2 separate regions of the Homo sapiens genome follow, and region 1 is linked to region 2. The links are contacts of gene promoters, found by promoter capture Hi-C in human tissues and cell types (Jung and others, 2019). All regions are on one chromosome and are shown on one strand. The core of a region is centred on a gene start or on the middle of the fragment in contact, and the rest is flanking DNA. Distances in the headings are between cores, read along the strand shown.

Region 1 (6,549 bases), core at 2,750-5,249, 47 kb before region 2:
TGTCCATCAATTGGTGAGTGAATAAACAAAATGTGAGCCAGGCGTGGTGGCTCACGCCTGTAATCCCAGCACTTTGGGAGGCTGAGGCGGGTGGATCACCTGAGGTCCGGAGTTCAAGACCAGCCTGGCCAACATGGTGAAACCCTGTCTCTACTAAAAATACAAAAAATTAGCTGGGTGTGGTGGCGGGCGCCTGTAATCCCAGCTACATGGGAGGCTGAAGCTGGAGAATCACTTGAACCTGGGAGGCAGAGGTTGCAGTGAGCCAAGATTGTGCCATTGCACTCCAGCCTGGGCAACAAGAGCCAAACTCCGTCTCAAAACAAAACAAAACAAACAACAAAAAATGGTGTATCTCTACAATGAAATATTATTTAGCCATAAAAAGCAATGAAGTACTGTCTTATGGTACATAAACCTTGAAAATATGCTAAATGGGCCGGGCGCGGTGGCTCACGCCTGTAGTCCCAGCACTTTGGGAGGCCAAGGCGGGCAGATCACAAGGTCAGGAGATTGAGACCATCCTGGCTAACATGGTGAAACCCTGTCTTTACTAAAAATAAAAAAAATTAGCCGAGCTTGGTGGCAGGCGCCTGTAGTCCCAGCTACTCGGGAGGCTGAGGCAGGAGAATGGCGTGAACCTGGGAGGCGGAGATTGCAGTGAGCCGAGATCACGCCACTGCACTCCAGCCTGGGCGACAGAGCAAGACTCCGTCTCAAAAAAAAAAAAAAAGAAAGAAAATATGCTAAATGAAAGAACCATCCATGGAAGGCCACATATTGTATGATTCCATTTGTAGTTGAGCCTCATTGTTCATAGAGTCTGCGTTTGCGAATTTGCCTACTCACTAAAGTTTTTTGTAGCCCCAAAATCAATACTCTCGGCACTCGTCTATCACAGATGTGTGCGTGTGCAGAGCAGCAAAAAATTTGAAGTACCCCATGCACGTGTTCCAGCTGAGGTTGTGTGGTTGAACAGTGCGATGCCCTGCCTTCTTGTTTCAGCTCTCAACTGAAGCAAGTGGGCTGTCTAATGCCAAACTTCTTGGATTTTGTGCTTTTTGTTGGTGATTTTGCTTTGGCCCCAAACGTGGTGCTGAAGTGCTGTCTAGTATTCCTGAGCACAGAAGGTCATGATATGCCTTTTGGAGAAAATACATGTGTGAGATAAGCTTTATTTGGGCATGAGTTATAGTGCTGCTGAGTCAATATTACCTATTAAATAAGGTGTCTTTAAACACACATAAAACAAAGTTATATATTAATCAGCTGGCAAAAATGTGAGCAGAGGCTTGTTTGAACCTAAACCTCTGTTTCCCTTAGGAGCAATGATTCAGTATCATTAATTCAATGTTCATGGCAAGTTTATAGAACATAAGCACTACAGATAAAATTCAGCTGTATATGGGATGCTCAGACTAGGGTGGATCCATTGAGACAAAGTAGATTAGTGATTGTCAGGGTCTAGGAGGAGGAGAATAGGAAGTGACTACTGAGAGTGGGTTTTCTTTTTGGGGGATGAAAATGTTCCAGGCTGGGCGTGGTGGGTCACGCCTGTAATCCCAGCACTTTGGGAGGCCGAGGTGGGCGGATCACAAGGTCAAGAGATCCAGACCATCCTGGCCAACGTGGTGAAACCCCGTCCCTACTAAAAATACAAAAAAAATTAGCTGGGCACGGTGGCGTGCACCTGTAGTCCCAGCTACTCAGGAAGCTGAGGCAGGAGAATCACTTGAACCCGAGAGGCGGAGGTTGCAGTGAGCTGAGATCACGCTACTGCACTCCAGCCTGGGTGACAGAGTGAGAGCGAGACTCCATCTCCAAAAAAAAAAAAAAAAATTAGCCAGGCGTGGTGACAGGCACCTGTAATCCCAGCTACTTGGGGGGCAAAAAAACAAAACAAAACACCCCCCCCCTTTTTTTAAAGCACATTCCATGGAAGGCTACAACATTGCATATCTTTTTGGGTTGAAGGTACATTGACATTTTATTCTTTGACAATGAAGCTCCCTGGATTTTTATGAAAAGGAGGGGAAATCACAAATATTGTTTACATCCGCTATTGCAGAGAAACTGTCATTAAGAACAAAAGGGCCAGGCACGGTGGCTCATGTCTGTAATCCCAGCACTTTGGGAGGCCGAGGCGGGCAGATCACGAGGTCAGGAGATCGAGACCATCCTGGCTAACACGGTGAAACCCCGTCTCTACTAAAAACACCAAAAATTAGCCGGGCGTGGTTGCGGGCACCTGTAGTCCCAGCTGCTGCCACTGCACTCCAGCCTGGGCAACAGAGCGAAACTCTGTCTTAAAAAAAAAAAAAAAAAAAGAAAAGGAACAAAAGGAAGGAAATATTATAGGCTTTATTCTCTGATGAGAATATAGTGAGAGTAAAAGGTAAAATTGGCTAATTTGTTGTGTGGGTTTTTTGTTTTTTGTTTTTTGTTGGGGGGACAGAGTCTCACTTTGTCACCCAGGCTGGAGTGCAGTGGCATAATCTTGGCTCATTGCAACCTCCGCCTCCTGGATTCAAGCATTTCTCCTCCCTCAGCCTCCCGAGTAGCTGGGACTACAGGCGCATGCCACCACACCTGGCTAGTTTTTTGTATTTTAGTAGAGACAAGGTTTCACCATATTGCCCAGGCTGGTCTTGAACTCCTGAGCTCAGACAGTCTGCCCACTTCGGCTTCCCAAAGTGCTAGGGTTACAAGTGTGAGCTGCTGCGCCCGGCCTGTTGTATGTTTTTAAGCCCCTACATTTTGCAGAAAAAAAAAGTACTTCTGAGGAGCATTTGGGTCATGGAAGAGACCAAGAACCCAGGGCTGGATGTTTTATAAAATATAATTTTAATATGCTGTCCTATATATGAAAAATGTTGATAGAGGGCCACAGTTGTAATTTGTAAAGCAGACAATCTGTCAGGTGTTCTTACTAGCAAAATAAGTTCAGCTCAGCTGAAGTTTATTATAGTTTAGCTAAGGAGCCAGAAATGCACCCAGGGGAACAGCGAAAGAATGAAATACTTATCAGAACTACTAAGTAAATTTAAAAATACTCAGACTTGAGGCCGGGCATGGTGGCTCATGCCTGTAATCCCAGCACTTTGGGAGGATGAGATGGGTGGATCATGAGGTCAGGAGATCAAGACCATCCTGGGTAACATGGTGAAACCCCATCTTTACTAAAATTACAAAGAATTAGCAAGGCGTGGTGGCGGATGCCTGTAGTCCCAGCTACTGGGGAAGTTGAGGCAGGAGAATCCCTTGAACCCAGGAGGTGGAGGTTTCAGTGAGCTGAGATTGTGCCACTGCACTCCAGCCTGGGCGACAGAGTGAGACGCCATCTCAATTAAAAAAAAAATTCAGACTTGATCAAATTAGTGAAACTATAAAAAATAACGAAATAGACAAATGGCATCTTTTGAGAAATAGGTCTTTAAATTTTTATTTTGCCAGGTGCAGTGGCTCACGCCTGTAATCCAGCACTTTGGGAGGCGGAGGCAGGTGGATCACGAGGTCAGGAGATCGAGACCATCCTGGCTAACACGGTGAAACCCCGTCTCTACTAAAAAATTACAGAAAATTAGCCGGGCATGGTGGCAGGTGCCTGTAATCCCACTACCCGGGAGGCTGAGGCAGGAGAATGGCATGAGCCTGGGAGGCGGAGCTTGCAGTGAGCCGAGATTGTGAGCTGTGATTGTGCCACTAACTCAGCCTGGGCGACAGAGCGAGACTCCATCTCAAAAAATATATATATATATTATTTTTTTTTTGCGATAGGGTCTTGCTGTGTCACTCAGGCTGAGTATAGTGGCACAATCACAGCTCACTACAGCCTCAATATTGTGGGCTCAAGCAATCATCCCACCTCAGCCTCCCAAGGAGCTGGGACTACAGGCATGTGCCACCACAACCGGCTAATTTTATTTTTTATTTTTTGTAGAGGCCAGGTCTTGCTATGTTGCCCAGGCCAGTCTCAGACTCCTGGCCTCAAGTGATCCTTCCTCCTTGGCCTCCCAAAGTGCTGGGAATACAGGTGTGAGCCACCAACCTCTGCATTAGTTACCAAGGTGATGATAGTGAGAAGTAGAGAGCCTAAGTATTCATATCAGAGAGTGAGGTGAAAACTCCTGAGCGTGCCCCTAACGAAGTACTCAGCCTGTCCTTAGCCCAGTGAGGTTTCTAAAATGCTAATGCGGTAGTAATTCTCCTGTTACAGGGCCATTTCTAATCATGGGAAAGGAAGGGGAGCCACCTATTTGTGCTCTTAGGCGACTGTGGCTCAATTTCCAGCCCTGAAGTCAAGAACAGCCAGGAAAAGGGAGCAGTCTCACACCGAGGGTGGTGTGCACTGAAATACACTGTGGCCAGTCAGCCAAGGGTGGGCTTCGTTTATTAAATAAATAAATAAATGTTTATTAAATAAAAATATACCTCCAGGGCCTGCTGCCTCTAGAGGTACAGGTGGCTTGTACAGGGAGGTGATACCACCTACCCCTGAAGAGGCTTAGAGACTGAATTAGAGGCCACCCTGGCCTGCAGAGAGCTTTCCAGGCCCCTTGCCCCTGCTTGCTGTTCACAGTCCACCCTCCTTGCCCATCCACCCCCAACAAACGTGGAACCTGTCAGCATTGCATGCGCAATGCCCTCCTCGCCTCTGCCCCACTGCTTCACCTCTACCCACTGTGGTCACAGGAGCCCTCTCTTTCCCATTCTCACCAGGCACAGTAAAAAGCAGAGGTTAGGCAGGTGGGTTTTGGACACCAGGCCAGGAGTACTTTGTGCTGTGGCCCTCACTTAATGTGTGCTGTTGAATGATTATGCCTTTGCATATGACTCAGCCAGCATCAGCATTTTGTTTTATTTATTTACTTTTGAGACAGAGTCTCGCTCTGTTGCCCAAGCTAGAGTGCAGTGGCACGATCTCGGCTCACTGCAACTGCCGTCTCCCGGGTTCAAGCGATTCTCCTGCCTCAGCCTCCTGAGTAGCTGGGACTCTAGGCATGGGCCACCATGCCTGGCTAATTTTTGTATTTTTAGTAGAGACGGGGTTTCACCATGTTGCCCAGGCTGGTCTTGAGCTCCTGACCTCAGGTGATCTGCCTGGCTAGCATTTGCATTTTAATCCATTTCTTGTAATGCTGAATGAACAATATGAGCCCTTAATAAAGGAATTGACCAGGTGCAGTGGCTTCATGCCTGTCATCCTAGCACTTTTGGGAGGATGAGGCGGTAGGATCACTCAAGCCCAGGAGTTTGAGACCAGCCTGGGCAACATAGTGAGACCCCATCTCTACAAAAAACTAGGCCAGGAGCAGTGGCTAACACCCGTAATCCCAACTACTCTCAAGGCCAAGGTGGGAGGATTGTTTGAGCCCAGGAGATAAGACTGCAGTGAGCTGTGATTGCACCACTGTACTCTAGCCTAGGTTAAAAAAAAAAATTAGCTGGACGTGATGGCATGTGCTTGTAGTCTCAGCTACTCAGGAAGCTGAGGCAGGAGGATCATTTACACCCAGGAGTTTGAGGGTACCGTGCAGTAAAGTATGATTGAGCCACTGCACTCCAGTCTGAGTGACAGCAAGACTGTCTAAAAAAAATAAGAAGGAATTTGTGGCATCAGCAGTTCGGAGAAGAGGGGCACTGTTTTACAGTGGGAAGGAACATTCTGAGGGTGCTGGTCCTGACAGGGTCAGGGGGCAACTGTGGCAAAGTATGTGAGGAGGTGTGGGTAGCAGCTGCTTCTGATTCCCCACTATCCTTCCACCCTGGGGCACGTCTGGGCTACGGCACCTAGGGGGAGTACTGTGGCACCCATCAGAGCCATCAGCGTGACATCTGCCTGTGGTCTTGACAATGTGATGCGATGGCGGTTGTCAGCTTCCCATTGGCTGGCCCCAGTGACCCTTTCTAGAGGGTTCAGAAACTCCTAAGGGTCTTCCAGAGTTGGGTCATTGCGCATTGACAAGTGCAGCGCCATCACATACCCTTCTCTCTAGTGCCCACTCAGTCACCTTAACCGAAACTTCCCTGAGCCGAGCATGGTGCTGGGTGCTGGGCTGATGCAGGGAAGTTCTACCCGGTCCTGCCCTGAAGAAAGTGACCCTGTGTGCATGCATGAGAGTGAGCAGTCAGTTCAATACTAGGCCTCCTATCTCCAGAGTACACAAGAGGACTGGATTAGCCGGGCATGGTGGTGCACGACTGTAGTCCTGGCTACTTGGGGGACTGAGGCTGGAGGATTGCTTGAGGTCAACCCAGGAGGTTGAGGCTGCAGTGAGCCAAGATGGTGCCACTGCACTGCAGCCTAGGTGACAGAGTGAGACCCTGTCCCTCCTCCCCAACCCCCCGCCAAGAAAAAAGGGCTGGGAGTGACTGAGGGCTAAGACCTCCCCAGGTGTTAGGTCAGGAAGGCTTCCTGGAGGCGGAAGCACATCACTGTGAACAATTATCCACTGTAGTGTTAGCTATTTGTTGTCCATCAGTGTCTTCTAATCACAGAGGAAAGATGAGTTTTCTGGCAGTCAGAATTTTGGATAAATAGGAGGCAGC
Region 2 (7,182 bases), core at 1,154-3,653:
ACAGGGCTTCACCATGTTAGCCAGGCTGGTCTCGAACTCCTGACCTCAGGTGATCCAACCGCCTTAGCCTCCCAAAGTGCTGGAATTACAGGCGTGAGCCACCGCACCGACTGTCCCCTCCCCACACCCCGGCCCTTTTTTAAAGAGACAGGATCTCACTCTGTTGCCCAGGCTAGAGTGCAGTGGCTTGATCATAGTTTACTGCAGCCTCAAACTCCTGGGCCTCAAGTGATCCTTCCACTACAGCCTCCCAAGTAGCTGGAATCACAGGTGCTGCCACCATGCTGGGCCTAAGATTCCAGCCCTTAAGGAGCTACATCCCATCCACTGTATGTGTGTCATGGAGGCAGTGGTTGTGTCAGGGAGGGTGCTCAGTAAACCGGGACACAGACTGAATTACACAGGATTACAAATTGTGAGGAATTGTGACAGACTTTATGGGAGATGCATGGAAGTGGGTGGTTAGGGAAGGTCTCTCTGGGGAGGTGACACTTATGTTAAAACCTAGAGAATAAGAAGCCAGCCATGAAATAAGGCAAAGATAGCTGGCTTTCGGTGACTGGGTGGATGGTGGTACTGCTCAGCAGAGTGGGGACTGGGAGAAGAGGGAGGATTGAAAATTCTGCTTTATGGCCGGGTGCGGTGACTCATGCATGTAATCCCAGGACTTTGGGAGGGCTGAGGCGGGAGGATCACCTGAGGTCGGGAGTTCGAGACCAGCCTGACCAACATGGAGAAACCCCTTCTCTACTAAAAATACAAAATTAGCCAGGCGTGGTGGCGCATGCCTGTAATAATCCCAGCTACCTGGGAGACTGAGGCAGGAGAATCGCTTGAACCTGGGAGGCGGAGGTTGCAGTGAGCCAAGATCACACCATTGCACTCCAGCCTGGGCAACAAGAGCAAAACTCCATGTCAAAAAAAAAAAGAAAAAAAAAAAGAAAATTCTACTTTGACCAGACATGTTAATTTAATTTTTTTAGGCAGAGTCACTCTGTCACCCAGGCTGGGATGCAGTGGCCTAATCTTGGCTCACGGCAACCTCTGCCTCCCCAGTTCAAGCTACTGTCTCGGCCTCCCAAGTAGCTGGAATTACAGGTGTGTGCCACCACACCAGGCTAATTTTTTGTATTTTTAGTAGAGATGGGGTTTTGCCATGTTGGCCAGGTTAGTCTTGAACTCCTGACCTCAAGTGATCCGCCTGCCTCAGCCTCTCAAAGTGCTGGGATTGGCCGGGCGTGGTGGCTCACGCCTGTAATCCCGGAACTTTGGAAGGCCAAGGCAGGCGAATCAGGAGGTCAGGAGATCGAGACCATCCTGGCTAACATGGTGAAACCCCGTCTCTACTAAACACACACACACACACACACACACACACACACACAAAGTGCTGGGATTACAGGCGTGAGCCACCACGCCCATCCAGACATGTTACATTTCAGATCAGTGGTTACCCAAGTGGAGATCAGGAACCTGGAGTGCTGGTGACTTAGTACTGGGAGTCATGGGATACAAATGGCATTTAAAATTAGGAGCCTAGGCAAGATTACCCTGGGCCTGAGTGTAGCTAGGGGCCCAAGGTACTGATCTGACCCAAGGGAAGGGTCTGGCAGAAGAGACGGAAGGGATCAGGTAGGGCTTTGGACCTCTAGGCTTGATGGCCACCTGCTGCTGGGCCTCCGAGGGGCCTGGAGGCGGTGGGGACCGAATATGCAGAGAGAATGAGAAGTGAGCGAGTAGAACGAGAGTGGTACATGGCTTTGAAGGCATCTGCCACGGAGGCGGGAAGGGATGGGGTGGAGGCTCATGAGACTTGAAGCTCTAGGAGGACGTTGAAAAAGACCTGAGCGCTGGCCGGGCGCGAAGCCTCAGGCCTGTAATCCCAGCACTTTGGGAGGCCAAGGCGGGAGGACTGCTTGAGCTCAAGAGCTCCAGACCAGCCTGGGCAACATTGTAAGAGCCTGTCTCTACAAAAAATTAACAAATTAGCCGGGTGTGGTGGTGCGTGCCCGTAGCTACTCGGGAGGCTGAGGTGGGAGAATCGCTTGAGCCTGGGAGGTCGAGGCAGTAGTGAGCTGTGATTGTGCCACTGCACTCCAACCTGGGCGACAGAGCGAGACCCTGTCTCGAAAATAAATAAATAAGACCTGAGAACCCAGTATGGGAATGGCCCTGAGCCGTGGCTAGGGGGGTAGACAAGGCGGTCCAGACAGACCCCTCAAGAAGATGGGGCTTCGAGGCTGAGGGAGCTCGGCCCCGAAAAGACGCCTGCGGGAGATGGCACACCTAGCTAGGACCCCATACTGGGCAGGCGATCCTTCCGAGCATGAGCACCTGGCGCTAGCGAACCACAATTCCCAGCACGCCAGGCGCCCGTTTCCGGGGCGCGCCGCGGAACCCGGAAGTGGTCACGGAACTCGGCTGCGGCTCCATGGTCTGAGTTGTCAGCCGTTGTTTTTTCGTGCTCGCTAGTCGCCGCCGCCGCTCCGCCATGGGGAAGCGACAGCACCAAAAGGACAAAATGTAAGTTGAGCCGCAGTCGGGAGCGGCGCTCCACTCTGCCTCAGTGAACCGCCTGTCCCGCACTGCGCGCCGCTCGCCTTCCCTCTCAGCTACTCCCCAGAGCACAGCCCAAAGGTCACTTCCTCCCGGAAGCTGCCGCCCTGTCTCCAGTCAGGGTAATGACCCTCGGGCCGCCGCGCTCTCCCGGGGCCGCGGCTCCGATGACGTCAGCTGCGGGCTCGAGCGCAGCCCGGTTTTCCTTACTCTGGTTCTGCCCGGACCGTCCCCCGTCTGTTCGCGAGTTTCGCCCTTGAATGAGTAGTCTCTACCTCTTCCGTACTTCACGTCTCGCTGTGTTCTGGTTCATGCCTATCAGCCTGCAAACGTGCTGCAGAGCCTTCTAATTTAAAGCAAACCAGGTCGGGCGCAGTGGCTCACCTGTAATCACAGCACTTTGGGAGGCCGAGGCGGGCGGATCACCTGAGGTCAGGAGTTCAAGACCAGCCTGGCTAATACGGTGAAACCCCGTCTCTACTAAAAATACAAAAATTAGCGGGGCGTGGTGACGGGCGCCTGTAATCCTAGCTATTTGGGAGGCTGAGGCAGGGGAATCGCTTGAACCCGGGAGGCGGAGGTTGCGGTGAGCCGAGATCGTGTCACTGCACTCCAGCCTGGGCGACAGAGCGAGACGCTGTCTCAAAAATAATAAATAAAATTTAAAAATCCACCCGTGCCCCGTGCCCCACGTCCCACGTTCCCCTCCCGCTGCCGCCGTGTTGTTTCTCTTAAGAACAAGTGAGAGACTAGTGGCTTCATGCTGTTTTCTGAGTCTCTTGAAACCACTCAAGTCAGAATTTCGACCCCAGAACTGTTGGGCTTCTCAACAGTATGTCACACCGTTGACCACTCCCTCTTTCTGAAGCCCTCCTTTGGTATCTGGGATTTCACCTGCTCTTTGTTTTCTCTCGACTTCAGCGGCCTCTCTTTTCAGGTTCCCAGCGACTTCTTGTTGCTAAATATAGTATTCAATCCTCAGTCCTCATTTTTTTTTTTTTTTTTTTTTGAGACGCAGTTTCGCTCTTGTTGCCCAAGCTAGAGTGCAATGGTGAGATCTTGGCTCACCGCAACCTCCGCTTCCCGGCTTCAAGAGATTTTCCTGCCTCAGCCTCCCGAGTAGCTGGGATTACAGGCATACGCCACCATGCCCAGCTAATTTTGTATTTTTAGTAGAGAAGGGGTTTCTCCATGTTGGTCAGGCTGGTCTCGAACTCCTGACCTCAGGTGATCCACCTGCCTCGGCCTCCCAAAGTCCTGGGATTACAGGCGTGAGCCACCGCGTCTGGGCAGCCTCAGTCCTCATTTTGTTGGGCTTCTCAACAGTATGTCCCACTGTTGACCACTCCCTCCTTCTGAAGCCCTTCTTTGGTATCTGGGATTTCACATGCTCTTTGTTTTCCATCGACTTCAGCGGTCTTTCTTTTCCCAGTCTCCTTTCTGGACCCTCCTCCCTTCTCTCAGATCTCATACGTTTCTTTTCCATAAACATTCTCTGTGGGTGATATAATTTCCCAGTCATCTATAAGCTGCTTTCCCCAGTCTTGTGTAGTTAGTGGCTTACTTAATATCTCCACTGGAGGACTGAAAGACATCTCAAATTTTTTTTTTTTTTTTTTTTTTTTTTTTGAGATGGAGTCTTGCTCTGTCGCCCAGGCTGGAGTGCAATGGTGCCGTCTTGGCTCACTGCAACCTCTACTTCCCACATTCAAGCAATTCTCCCACCTCAGCCTCCCCAGTAGCTGGGATTATAGGTGCCTGCCACCATGCCCATGCTAATTTTTGTATTTTTAGTAGAGACAGGTTTTCACTATGTTGGTCAGGCCGGTCTCGAACTCCTGACGTCGAGTGATCGACCTACCTCTGCCTCCCAAAGTGCTGGGATTACAGGCGTGAGCCACCGTGCCGGGCCAGACATCTCGAATTTAATATGCCTTAAACAGAACTCTTGATTTTCAGCTCTTGAGCCTGCTCCTCCCTGTAAACTAAAAATAAAACCCTAAGTCCCCCCACTGGCTAAGCAGACACCCTTGTGGCCAAGAGAACCCCAGGAAAACCTTAAAACTGAGTTCCTGGCCATGATGGGATAGAGATCAGCTGTGCCTTGTTATATCCCCCTCCCTTTTGTGGCTTAGACACAACAACTGACCAGCATTAATGTTGAAATAGAGATCATAAGGGGCCAGGCACGGTGGCTCACACCTGTAATCCCAGCACTTTGGGAGGCTGAGGCGGGTGGATCACCAGGTCAGGAGATCGAGACCATCCTGGCTAACACGGTGAAACCCCATCTCTACTAAAAATACACAAAAAAATCAGCTGGGCGTGGTGGCAGGCGCCTGTAGTACCAGCTACTCGGGAGGCTGAGGCAGGAGAATGGCGTGAACTCACGAGGTGGAGCTTGCAGTGAGCCGACATTGCACAACTGCACTCCAGCCTGGGCAGCGAGCAAGACTCCGTCTCAAAAAAAAAATAAATAAAATAAATAAAAATAAAGAAATAGAAATCATAAGATTGACAAAACAGACTCTTTGTGGCAATAAGATACCATTTTTTTTTTTTTTTGAGACGGAGTCTCGCTCTGTCGCCCAGGCTGGAGTGCGGTGGCATGGTCTCCGCTCACTGCAAGCTCCGCCTCCCGGGTTCATGCCATTCTCCTGCCTCAGCCTCCCGAGTAGCTGGGACTACAGGCGCCTGCCACCACGCCCGGCTAATTTTTTGTATTTTCAGTAGAGACGGGGTTTCACTGTGTTAGCCAGGATGGTCTCCATCTCCTGACCTGGTGATCCGCCCGCCTCGGCCTCCCAAAATGCTGGGATTACAGGTGTGAGCCACCGTGCCTGGCCCTCTATTTTTTTTTTTTTTTTAGTAGAGACTGGTTTCACCGTGTTAGCCAGAATGGTCTCCATCTCCTGACCTCGTGATCTGCCCGCCTTGGCCTCCCAAAGTGCTGGGATTATAGGCGTGAGCCACCTTGCCCGGCCGGTTTTTTTTGTTTTTTGTTTTGTTTGTTTTTGAGACAGAGTCTCCCCCGTCCCCCAGGCTGGAGTGTAGTGGTGCTGTCACAGCTCACTGCAGCCTCAACCTGCCTTCCTGCCTTAGTCTTTGGAGTAGCTGGGACCACAGGTGTGAGCTGTCACACCTGGCTAAGTTTTAAATTTTCTTGTAGAGACAGATTCTCGCTTTGTTGCCCCAGCTGTTCTCCAACGCCTGGACTCAAGCAATCTTCCTGCCTTGGCCTCCCAAACTGTTGGGATTATAGGTGTGAGCCACTGTGCCTGGTCTCCATGTCTGTTGTGTTTATCACTGTGTGGCTGACATATAGTAGGTGTTTTTTTGTTTGTTTGTTTTTTTGAGACAGAGTCTCACTCTGTCACCCAGGCTGGAGTACAGTGGTGTGATCTTGGCTGACTGCAACCTCCGCCTCCCGGGATCAAGCAATTCTCTGCTTCAGCCTCCCGAGTAGCTGGGATTACAGGCACCCACCACCATGCCCAGCTAATTTTTGTATTTTTAGTAGAGACGTGGTTTCACCATGTTGGCCAGGCTTGTCTTAAACTTCTGACCTCTAGTGATTCGCCTGCCTCGGGCTCCCAAAGTGTTGGGATTACAGGCGTTAGCCACCGTGCCCGCCCCATAGTAGGTATTTAGTAAGCATTTGCTGAGTAAGCAAAGATTACTCACTTCCAAAGACTTCGTCCTCTTTATAAAGGTGGTGGTGGTAGCATTATCTTCCTCTCTTCTTCAGGTACATTACCTGTGCTGAATACACTCACTTTTATGGTGGCAAGAAGCCAGGTAAGGCATGCAGTCTTTCTGTTCCCCGTTGGGGGAGTGGTATTAAGGAACTGTGTCTTCAGGATACAGTGAGCTGTAAAAATAGACAACAAGAACACGGAAACTATGGTAGACGAATGGGCTGAGGACACAGTTCATGAAAGAGAAATATACTCAAGATAGAAGAACCTGCTTCATCTTAGTGGTGATTTTTGTAAAATGTAATTTAAAATATTCCCCGATGCTGGGAGCTAAGTAAAAAATAAATAAGTAAATGAAATACAAAATTACATGTACATTTAAATGTTTTTTCTCTATCAAGTTTATAAGGAATAAAAAGAATGATAATATTTTCAGCTGTCAAAACTATCAAGACTACAATAACAAGAGCACTGTCATAATTTTAATGGAAGTAAAAAGTATGCACTTTTCCCAGTAAGTTCTTTTTTGATGTACCCCAAGTGTTTTGGTTTATCTGTTAAAAGGTTTTTAATCCACAGCAATTGCTGTACTTAAAAATTTGCATGAACTTTTTCATAAGCTGTAACTGAATTGCTAGCAGGTGCACATAGATGAAATACTTTACAGAGTAAGATTTCTGTTTTTTATTTCATTTTTAAACAGATCTCCCACAAACAAATTTTCGTCGTTTACCTTTTGACCACTGCAGGTAAGAGTTTTGCGAGTTTACCTTTCCCTTGTAATTGTTCTCTGATCCTGTCTGATAGTGAATCTGCCCCTTGTGGATGTGGGGTTATGCGTAAAAGTGTGCCTTGAAGATGTGGCCCTTCAGTTCATGTTGGGAGAAGATGCAGAGTCCTCGTCATGATGTTAGGAGCTTGCCTTGGT

What was found. Contacts are between HindIII fragments. The study calls those that stand out against the background at their distance.
Region 1: a fragment that was not itself captured here is called in contact with the fragment with the promoter of PPIL2 in region 2 in 10 of the 25 tissues and cell types used here (IMR-90 fibroblasts, aorta, heart left ventricle and 7 more).

The regions. Positions count from the first base shown.
Region 1 is chr22:21,614,837-21,621,385 of GRCh38, forward strand. All of the region lies in intron 3 of UBE2L3 (ubiquitin conjugating enzyme E2 L3), which reads left to right. Among named protein-coding and RNA genes, the nearest start is that of YDJC, 12 kb to the right of the region's middle. The HindIII fragment of the contact is 9,374 bases long and covers 1-6,549 here.
Region 2 is chr22:21,663,609-21,670,790 of GRCh38, forward strand. It overlaps PPIL2 (peptidylprolyl isomerase like 2), which reads left to right and starts at 2,404. Exons shown (of 20, transcript NM_014337.4): 1 at 2,404-2,523; 2 at 6,305-6,354; 3 at 6,958-7,003. The coding sequence starts at 2,492. RefSeq lists enhancers at 2,336-3,246, 2,481-2,720, 2,791-2,840. The HindIII fragment of the contact is 22,549 bases long and covers 1-6,052 here.